Linked DNA regions of Homo sapiens: region 1 is linked to region 2. The links are contacts of gene promoters, found by promoter capture Hi-C in human tissues and cell types (Jung and others, 2019). All regions are on one chromosome and are shown on one strand. The core of a region is centred on a gene start or on the middle of the fragment in contact, and the rest is flanking DNA. Distances in the headings are between cores, read along the strand shown. Region 1 holds the start of CREB3L4 (cAMP responsive element binding protein 3 like 4). Region 2 holds the start of EFNA4 (ephrin A4).

Region 1 (5,022 bases), core at 2,391-4,890, 1.1 Mb after region 2:
GAGACAGTTATTATACAACTTACGTCTATTTTGGGGGTGGTCTGTTTTCAGACCTGTCTCCAAGTGGGAGCTGAAGCCTCTTATCACAGAGTTGTGTCTCAACCCCACCCCCACTCCCACTCGTCACACTCACACAGCCACGGTCCCCACCGGACTTCCAGCCTTGCAGTCCCTGTTCCTGTAGCCTAGTTACCGGAACCTCTGGAGGGGGGCAGTGGAGTCCCAGCTCCAGGACGGATCCTGTCGAGAAGATATCCTCTGGGGGCTCCAGCCACGCGTCCAGCAGGTCAGGGATTCCGAGATCCATGCTTCTGCAGGAAGGCGTGTGGGACGGAGGGTTGCAGAAACGGAATGATGGCTGCTTACTACCCCCTACAGTTTCTGGGCTCCTCTGCTCCCTTTTCCATTATCCCCGCCCCCCCACTCCTTCCTCACTAGCAAGCCCCCTCACCTGTCCCCTCGATATTTCACCTTCAGCCCTATCCCTCAGGTTTAGACAAAGAGGCCCCCCCCAAGCATTACCTGTTCTGAAGAGCCCAGCCCTGTCAAGCCAGCATAGCCCGTTGACCTCCCCAAACACTACACCTTTTCTTTCTTCCAGGATCTCGTATCCTGGACCTGCCAGCCAAACCCCGCCCCCAGCCTTACACTACAAAAGTGGATGCCACCTTGCCAGGAGCCACGGTAGGGCCGCTGTATCTGGGAGTAGGGGACTAAGAGTCTGAGGGTCCACAAACGGAATTTAAGAAGTAGGTAGCCGCGCCCTTTCTGCTGCAGTTTTCTCTTAGCTATAGTAAATCTTCCTGAGGGTTTGGTGTCTCCTAGCTGAAGAACAGAAAAGGCTGTGACTGGAGCACAGGACTCCTGAATGCCTGTTCTGTAGCCCTCGCTTTTGCAAGAGGGAGATCATGGCAGGGTTGTAAACAAAGGCGGAAAGAGTCAAGAGACCTGCGAATTTACTAGGGCATCCCCTCGCCCACCGCGTGGCGCTCTTCCCAAAGCTGAGTCCTGATTGGAAGCTGAAGACTTAGGTTTCGGAGGGGCAGGACATCGAGCCAATGGCACACTACCCTCTCAAGGCCGCCTCTTCCGTAACTGGTCGGAGACAGTTTGGCTGTTCAGGAGAGTCAGGCCAATGGGGCCGCAGTTCTTTCTTTTTTTTTTCTTTATTCTTATTTTTGGAGACAGGGTCTCGCTCTGTTGCCCAGGCTGGAGTGCGGTGGTGCGATCACGGTTCCATGCAGCCCCCGACCTCCCGGGCTCAGGTGATTCTCCCGCCTCAGCACCGCGAGCAGCTAGGACCACAGGCGCGAGCCACTGCGTCCGGCCGGCGGGACTTATTTGTCAGGCGGGGATTGGGTTCCGCCAGCCTAAAGGGAGGGGTAAGCGCCAGAATATGAATCGCCGGGAAGCTGGGAGAAAGCTCCGGGAAACCCTGAGCAGCCAGGTTTGTCTTCGCGCGCCACGTGACTCGGAAGCTCCGGTTTCACCCAGGCGGGGAGTCAACAGCCCGCTGACCCCAGTGGAGCGGTGATCCTCGCTCGGCAGGCGGCAGGAGCGCGATGGCGGGTTTCCCCGTCCGCAAGCCGAGCAGTGTGGCGTTAATGGAGAACAGCAGCTGTGCGCACACGCTCGCTGCACGCTGCTCATTCACGGAGGGACACGGGGCAGGAAAACTGCAACAAGTTAAAAAGCCTTTTGCGTTTGTTGTCTTATTGTTTGCATACAGTTACCGGGAACATTATGTCCCACACTTGTATAATTTACAAAACGTTTTCATAAAAATTGTTCTCTTCCTTAATCCATAACAGTTCTGAGGCACACACGGCGGGTAATATTTTGCAAATTTTACCTATGAGGAGGCAGATCCATGACTAGAAAGTAGTAATACCAAAACTCAGGGTTGATTGATTATTTTTATTTTTTTGCCTTGGTCTAATGTCTGATGGTCCAGGAATTCACTTCAAGTAAAACAATGGAGGTAAACTGATACAGGTATGGTTTTCAGTAGTATTTCAGAAAAGGGTAGCTGGGTGAGTAAAACAGTAGTTTGGAGTGTGAATCCCAGAACTCAAACTGCTACTAATTATCCTTATGAAGATTTGAACGGGCTAAGGGTAAAAACGGGAACAGGGTCTAGTCAGGCATTTCCATGTTACTCATATAATTCTTACAGCAGATGGAGCTGACAAGTTTGTTTGTTTGTTTTTCTTTTGCTCTGTGGCCCAGGCTGGAGTGCAGAGGCTCGATCTCGGCTCACTGCAAGCTCCGCCTCCCGGGTTCACGCCATTCTCCTGCCTCAGCCTCCCTAGTAGCTGGGACTACAGGCGCCCAGCTAATTTTTTTGTATTTTTAGTAGAGACAGGGTTTCACCGTGTTAGCCAGGGTGGTCTCGATCTGACCTCGTGATCCGTCCACCTCGGCCTCCCAATGTGCTGGGATTACAGGCGTGAGCCACCACGCCCGTCCGAGCTGACAAGTTTAAGTAACTTTCTCAAGGTTACCCTGTAAGTAGCTGAACCAAGATTTGGATGCTTCAGCCCATGTTCTTCACACTATCAACCCACCTTGTGGGGCTTTCTCAGATTTCTTATCTGTCTTTCCCGCTCATATCTCTCCATCCTGCTCAAGTAGTGAAGAGACAAAGCAGCCTTCCTAGATTGATGCAGAGCTCCAAGGAAAGCAAAGCTGTTCTTGTTGAGATCATTCTGAGAGCGAGAAAGGTGGTTAAATACATTTCAAAGGGCTTCCTGCGGGCTGTATGTGCAGAGATGATTTGAGTGGGGAATGTAGTTAGCTTCCGTTGATGTTAGAACTGGAAGGACCCTCTGCAGTCATCTGCTTGTTTAACTTCCTCCTTGCCCCTGATTTATCAAACTCTGGTGAGGAAAACTGACTTGCCTAAAATCATACATCAAGGTAAGGTAAAATTGAGGAGATCTATTGGGCCGGGTGTGGTGGCTCACACCTGCAGTCCCAGCACTTTGGGAGGCTGAAGCGGGTGGATCACCTGAGGTCAGGAGTTCAAGACCAGCCTGGTCAACATGGTGAAATCCCGTCTCTACTAAAAATACAAAAATTAGCCGGGCGTGGTGGCGGGCGCCTGTAATCCCAGCTACTCGGGAGGCCGAGGCGGGAGAATTGCTTGAAACCTGGGAGGCAGAAGTTGTAGTGAGCCAAGAGCATGCCACTGCATTCCAGCCTGGGCAACACAGCAAGACTCTGTCAAGAAAGAAAGGAGGAAAGAAGAAAGGAAGGAAGGAAGGAAAAAGAAAAGAAATAAAGTTGCCAAGAGATTTTAAATGTTCTCATCACAAATAAATATGTGAAGTAATGCATATGTTAATTAGCTTGATTTACCCATTCTGCAATGTACATATATTTCTTTTCTTTTTTCTTTTTTTTTGAGACGGAGTCTCGCTGTGTCGTCCAGGCTGGAGTGCAGAGGTGTGATCTTGGCTCACTGCAACCTCCGCCTCCCCGGTTCAAGCGATTCTCCTGCCTCAGCCTCCTGAGTAGCTGGGATCATAGGCATGCGCCACCACGCCTGGCTAATTTTTGTATTTTTAGTAGAGACAGGGTTTCACCATGTTGAGCAGGCTGGTCTCCAACTCCTGACCTCGTCATCTGCCCGCCTCGGCTTCCCAAAGTGCTGGGATTACAGGCGTGAGCCACCGCGCCCGGCCCAATGTACATATATTTCAAAACATCATGTTGTACACCATAAATATATACAATTATTAATCATATATGACATATGTATGTGTATAAATAAACAAATATATATATTTGACAACTATAAAGGTAGAACTTGGACCAGAATCCAGGTTTCCTGACCCCCCCAGTCATAATTCCTTGTTAATGTTACCAATTACGAATAATTTTTTTTTTTGAGACGAAGTTTCGCTGTTGTTGCCCAGGCTGGAGCGCAATGGCGCGATCTCGGCTCACTGCAATTTCCGGCTCCCGGGTTCAAGCGATTCTCCTGCCTCGGCCTCCCGAGTAGCTGGGATTACAGGCCCCCGCCACCACGCCCGGCTAATTTTTGTATATTTAGTAGAGACGGGGTTTCACCATGTTGACCAGGCTGGTCTTGAACTTCTGTCCTCAGGTGATTCATCCTCGGCCTTCCAAAGTGCTTGGATTACAGGCGTGAACCACCGCGCCCGGCCCCTTAAGAAGTCTTCACATTCCTCTTTTACTTAAGGAATTACTGGGCTTCGTTTCTGGAGCCTTGTGAGAAGCATTACACTGTCCCCCCTTTTTTTTTTCTTTTTTAAAATTAATTTTCCTGTAGGAAGCAAGATCCCATCTGTCCCTTCTTTAGGCAATGAAGCTTTTTTCACCTTTGCATAAAAGAACAGCTGAGCCCCCTTTTTAAATTTTCTTTTGTCTTACCGTCCCTTGAGGCTAGAAGAGGATTCTCAAGGCACAGAGTTGTGGGCCACAAGAATCCAGGTTGAGGAAACGGTGAAAGTCCTGAGCTGAAACAACTACCTTGGGGCATTCAAGGAACAGCAAACAGCAAACCGACCGGCGAGGGTGGCGGGAGCTGGGCTGGAAATCAGGTGGGAGAACCGGCCAGACGCCCGCAGGCGCGGTACGCAGATATCCTGGAATGCGCTGGGGGCTCTTCCCTGGGCGCGGCTTCAGCACCCCGCATTCCGGTCCCACCACGTCCCCACCCACCTGGAGAAGGCGGAGGCTGCACTGAGTGCCATAAGTAGTCGAGAAGGGATGATTTTCAAGACATACCCTCTCTTTGCTTTCCCCCCTTTCCAATTCTGCCTTGTCTTTTTCCTTGTTGTGGGTGCTGGTGAGGGAAAGCAGTCAAGGAAGTTGGTCCCAAGAGGGGAATGCTTTCCCTTGGGCGCCAAGAGGCACTGACGAGGTGTCAGAGCCTTCTGAGGGACAGATGAGACTTTGGCCCAAGGCCAGGAAGATGTTTTCAGATGTGGGCCGGAAGACTTGACAATGCGGGGTCTCCCTCTTTTAAAAATATCCATATAATCAAAGCCTTTG
Region 2 (5,167 bases), core at 2,668-5,167:
GAGCGAGACTCCGTCTAAAACCAAAACAAAACAAAACAGAAGTGGGGAGAGGATGGTGCAGTAGAAGCTCCCTCAAGGCTAAATGGGGAGAAGAGACCACAGCTTGAAGCTTCACCAGGACCCCTGGAGTCTGATCCTCCTAGATTCTTCTCACTCCTTCCCTCCTTCCCAAGGCCCCACATTAGCCAGTAGGGTCCATGCTCCCAACCCACTTACTCCTCTCCTTGCAGCAGACAGACACCTGGAGCCTCAAGCACTGGCCAGAACTCTCTGGAGTGGGCACCGCTGGGTAGTGGGAAAGTGGGAAAAAGTTAGCACAGGGAGTCACCCCTTTGTATGCCTCAGACTGTTTCAGACCCTCCCAGGTTTTCTTCTCTCCAGGTCCCTGGAAAGCGTTTCCTTACTTTGGGGCCACACCCATGTATCAGGCCCCATCCAGTCCTCTCATCTCCCTGGCCCCCTTTCCTAGCTCCTCCTACTTTCTCCTTTCTAGACATTTCCCTCCTCAGTCCTGAGTTCAGCCCATACCTCAACCCGATGTACATTAGAGACCCAGCCCCCTCCTCCTTCCAGGCCTCTCCTTCCCCCTCCCTACCCTTCTGGTACACAAGAGGTGTCCAGTGTGCCCTTGGCCACTCACAGATGTAGTAGTAAGTCTCTCCAGGTAAGAACTCAAAGCCGAGGGAGAAGGGTGTGAAGCGCTGAATCTTCTCTGAGAATTGAACATGGCCAAAGGGCAGGGAGCACACCCAGCGCTTGTAGGCCCGGGGGCCCTCTGCCTGGCAGGACTCATAGCCTGGCCAGTCCACCATGTACAAAGCAAACGTCTCGGGGCCCTCAGGGGGCCCTGGGCCTTCGTAGTGGGGGCAGACAATGTCTAGGTAATCGTTGAGGCCCAGCTCCACCACGGCGTCTCCTCGAAGCAACCTGCAGGCATAACGCAGGGGTGGGCTGAGGAGTGGAGGGCACCACGCCATGGCCATGGATGCCAGAGACACCCCTTCTCAGAGGCCCCTGCCAGCCTCTCCTCCACCCATGTGCGATGGAGCAGCTCAGGAAGGCCCGAGGTTCCCAGACTGACAACTCTTGAGAGACAAAGAGAGTGCAAGAAATGGATGAGATGATCGATTCACAGGTTCCGAGAGGCTAAGACCTGCAGTGCCCATAACCACACAGCTTAGATGTGAGAAGGAGGGTCACCACACCCTGTCCTACAGGCTGGAGCTGCCACACACCTCTCTAGCTCCAGTGCCCAACACTCAATGTGGTATAGCACCAGGCTTGATCAATGTCAGGTGGATGGATGCTGTGAAGAAGCTGGGCAGAGAGGCAGGAGGTACAGTTGCACACAGTGCAGCTGCAGACACAGAGGTGGAAACAGGGGTTGGGAAAGGTCTCCTCAAACAGATATAAAGTGAGGAACACTGTCCTTTAGACTGACTTCAACCCAAGGGTGAAAAGAATGTCACGGTAAAAAAAGAATGAGGGAGGCCAGGTGTGGTGGCTCACATCTGAATCCCAGCACTTTGGGAGGCCGAGGTGGGAGGATCGCTTGAGGCCAGGAGTTCAAGACCAGCCTGGGCAACATGGTGAGACTGTCTCTACCATAAATAAATAAATAGGCTGGGCGCGGTGGCTCACGCTTGTAATCCCAGCACTTTGGGAGGCTGAGGCGGGCGGATCATGAGGTCAGGAGATCAAGACCATCCTGGCTAACACGGTGAAACCCCGTCTCTACTAAGAATATAAAAAGAAAACTAGCCGGGCGTGGTGGCGGGCACCTGTAGTCCCAGCTACTTGGGAGGTTGAGGCAGGAGAATGGCGTGAACCCGGGAGGCGGAGCTTGCAGTGAGCCGAGATTGCGCCACTGCACTCCAGCCTGGGAGACAGAGCGAGACTCCATCTCAAAAAATAAATAAATAAATAAATAAATAAATAAATAAATAAATAAATAAAGGCCATGAGTGGTGGTGCACTCCTGTAGTCCCAGCTACTTGGGAGGCTGAGGCGGGAGGATCCTTAGAGTCCGCAAGTTCCTGTAGTGAGCTATTATGCCACCGCACTACAGCCTGGGTGACAGAGCAAGACCCTGTCTCTAAATTCTAAAAATTAAAAAAAAAAAAAAAAAAAGAATGAGGGAGTGGGTGCTAGGTGCCTCCCTTTTTTGGCCAGGAGGAGCAAGTGCCAGGCATGGGGGGAGTCCACATACTACCCAGTCTTCAGTCTTCTCAGGACTCCCTTCCCCACCTCTTGGGAGCTGCCTGGGGAAGCCAGCACAGGTGGGAAGGGCTGGAAGGGGCTGCTCCCCACAGTACTGAATGCTGCATGAACCACCCCCCATACCACAAACACAGCGAAGCATGACTTAGGAAAAGCCTCCAGTGGGTGGTCCAAGGACGACCTGTATCAGTTCTGATTAGAAATGAAGATTCCTGGGCTCAGCCAGCCCAGACTTACTAGAACGCAAGCTGAGCAAGGACAGGGCCTTGGTAAGTTTTGTTCTACTGCATCCCCCGTGCCTGGAAAAGTGCCCAGCACAGGACAGTGTTCAATAAATATTTGTGGATTGAATGAATGAGCCAGAAACCTTAAGATTGGGGGGTGAGAAACCTGAATTTTTAACAGGTCCTCCAAGTGATTCAGAAGCTTTGGTCTGTGACAGAGATAGAGAATTCAGAGTCCAAGGACAACAAAAGCTCTTATCACTTGTTATTGGTATTGTAATGACCTGTCTTTATGCAGGCTCTCCTGCCTGCGCCTGTTCTCCAGAGAGTCTGTGGAATCCCAGAGGGCAGGGTCTTGATCTTCTCATCTATATAGTTAATCCCCTGCAACCTAGCACAGGGCCGGGCACACACAGTATGTGTTTAATAAATAAATGTTAGTGAGTGAAGAAATGAATAGTCACAGATTGTCTCAAGTAGAAAATCAGAAAGAAAAACAGATAGGAAATAGGAGAGGCAGGGAGACTTGGGGAGGGGGATGGAAACAGTAAAATATACTAAGGTTCAAAGGCAGGCAGCTCAGGAGAGAGAAAGAAATAATAGTTTATATCTGTACAGCCTGAGCCTCTTTCACATACATGACCTCACTTACCCTGCCAGACTTCCCAGGGTACTAGGTATTATTAGCCCATTATACAGGTGAGATAAATGAGGTTAGGAAGGTCACGAGACTTGCCCAGAGGTGATTCGGCTAGAAGGGCAGGGCTGACACTGGAAAGAAACAGAAGGACCAATAAAGACAGAGATGAAAGCAGAGATAGCAAATGAGATCAGGAGACAGAGTGAGAGCCAGAGGTGAGACCCAGCGGGCAGGAGAGTAACCCACGCTCTTTCATAAGAGTAAAGCCCCCTCCCTCGCTCTCAAGTTCGTCAGCCACAGCTCCAGCCTGCGGGAGGCTGGGGATCGCCAGGAGAGCAGCGAGGGGGGCGGAGCCCGGAGTGCGGGCAAAGGCCCCCCCAGCTCCATGCTCCAAGACCCCCTAGACAACCCTTGGGGCTGGGGTCTTCTGCCTGCCCCCCAACACATGCGGGCTGTGGGGAGACCCAGGGCGCGCCTCGCCCCTCGCCCCTCCCCCCTCCCCCGCCGGCTCAAACAAAGGAGCCCCGGCGCGCGGCCAGGCTCAGGCGGCGCCGCGCAAAGAGCGGGTGGCGGGCGCGCGCAAAGCCCGGGAGCGCGCAGACTTGGCTGTGCGCTCGCCCGGTTCGGCCCGGCTACCTGGGGTTACTGGAGTTCCAGTAGACTACGTGGCGGAGGCTGGAGCCCCCGCGCAGAGGGGAGCCGAGGAACGCGGCCCAGAGGACAGTCCGCAGCAGGGGCAGCAGCCGCATCGCCCCCGAGGTCCGGTTTGGTCTGGCCTGGCAGGTCCCGGCCCGCTTCACAGTCGAGGAGAGAAAGGTACAAAGTGAAGAGGGAAGTTGCGGAAAGGGGAGTGGGGTACGGAGATTCACTGACCCCGCCCCTGAATAACTTTCCGCCAATGGGAGCGCGTCTCCTCCTCTCCACCCAGCGCCAACTCCAGTTAACCCTCTGTGCACCGCAGCGCGCGCCAGGTTCGCCAAAGCTTCCACTGAGGCTGCACCGCACTGCGAGGGGGCGGGAAGGAAGGACGTATTCCAACAGCAGTATTTTTAGGGAGGTCATCTCTTTCGTGTCTGCTTTAGTGCAGGGTAGACTGCCTTATTAGAAGTTTGGAAGATTTTAAATAAGGGTACATAACCTTTGCCCAGATAGGGGAAAGTGAGGCGCGGGCGAGGATCCATGAAGCCTGTCCAACCACCTTCATGCACTGCCCCGTTTTCTTTGCACATCTAGGGACAGTGCAAGCGGAAGGGACAACACAGCTCTGGGACCACCTTCCCTAAAGAGCCTTAGGTGGCGCGCTAGATGCTCACTTTAGGATTGGCGTCTGTCCCTTGCCGCTCCACACCTTCGTTCCGGGCTGGGGGCCCACGCGGCCCCAGTCCCTAAGACGAAGTAATGAGGTGGTTGCGGCCTGTACAAAGCACCTTTGTTCCCGATCCCTCAGGTGGCGGCGGCGGAGGGGGAGGAGGCAGGTGCGCGGCCTTGGGATCGTGGGAGCAGCCGCCGCCCCGCTCCGCCCTGGCTCCTGGGCTCTGGGAGCATCAGCCAGATCCACTTTTCCCAGCCAATGGTCAGAGTGGGGACGGCAGGTCCAACAGCTTGACAGATTGCGCCGAAAGCCACCCCAGTCTGGGCAGAGGGAAGCTGCGAGCATCCCGGGGACACACGCCGACCCTTTCTGGTACTCCCGCCCCACACAGCCCGCCCTCGTCTGAGGCGGCAGCGTCTTCTGGCGGCCAAACCTGGAACCGCAGCAGGAGCGACCCGGGTTCTAGAAGCAGACAAACTCTGGGGAACGCTCCCAAGATGTCACGTTTATTGCAACTGAGCAGAGACAGGCTGTGCGGACCTTCCTCAATCCCGTCCAACCCCCAGCCCCTCCCCAAGCCCCCGCTGCAACTACGCCGGCAGGTCCGCAGAGTGTTGCTTGACAGCGCGTGGCGGTGCCCGGAGTCTTAAGACACCGCCAGTCTCTGGCGCCTTCAGTCATGGTAGGGGACTCCAGAGGGCACGCCCGCCTCTTGAAGCCCTAAGTCCGGCTTGGAGGCAGCGGAACCTCCGGAGAGGTCAGAGGTAGAGC

The links. The method cuts DNA at HindIII sites, captures the fragments that hold promoters and counts their contacts. A contact is called where the count stands out against the background at its distance.
Region 1: a contact is called between a fragment that was not itself captured here and the fragment with the promoter of EFNA4 in region 2, in 1 of the 25 tissues and cell types used here (hippocampus).

What each region holds. Positions count from the first base shown.
Region 1 is chr1:153,963,811-153,968,832 of GRCh38, reverse strand. It overlaps CREB3L4 (cAMP responsive element binding protein 3 like 4), which reads right to left and starts at 931. Exons shown (of 10, transcript NM_001255978.2): 1 at 669-931; 2 at 134-311. The coding sequence starts at 307. It also overlaps a transcript of SLC39A1 not described here. RefSeq lists enhancers at 665-784, 815-924, 1,135-1,354, 789-1,645, 4,509-5,022 and 1 more and a silencer at 673-1,174. The HindIII fragment of the contact is 3,075 bases long and covers 2,103-5,022 here.
Region 2 is chr1:155,062,490-155,067,656 of GRCh38, reverse strand. EFNA4 (ephrin A4) reads right to left here and starts at 3,917. Exons shown (of 4, transcript NM_005227.3): 1 at 3,721-3,917; 2 at 641-927; 3 at 217-285. The coding sequence starts at 3,833. It overlaps ADAM15 (ADAM metallopeptidase domain 15), which reads right to left. Exons shown (of 23, transcript NM_207197.3): 23 at 4,882-5,167. The coding sequence ends at 5,155. It overlaps EFNA4-EFNA3 (EFNA4-EFNA3 readthrough), which reads right to left and starts at 3,917. Exons shown (of 5, transcript NM_001407761.1): 1 at 3,721-3,917. The coding sequence starts at 3,833. DCST1-AS1 (DCST1 antisense RNA 1) reads left to right here and starts at 3,666. Exons shown (of 4, transcript NR_040773.1): 1 at 3,666-3,900. It also overlaps ADAM15-EFNA4. RefSeq lists an enhancer at 2,465-2,966 and silencers at 3,457-3,606, 3,897-4,046, 4,427-4,516. The HindIII fragment of the contact is 5,150 bases long and covers 1,379-5,167 here.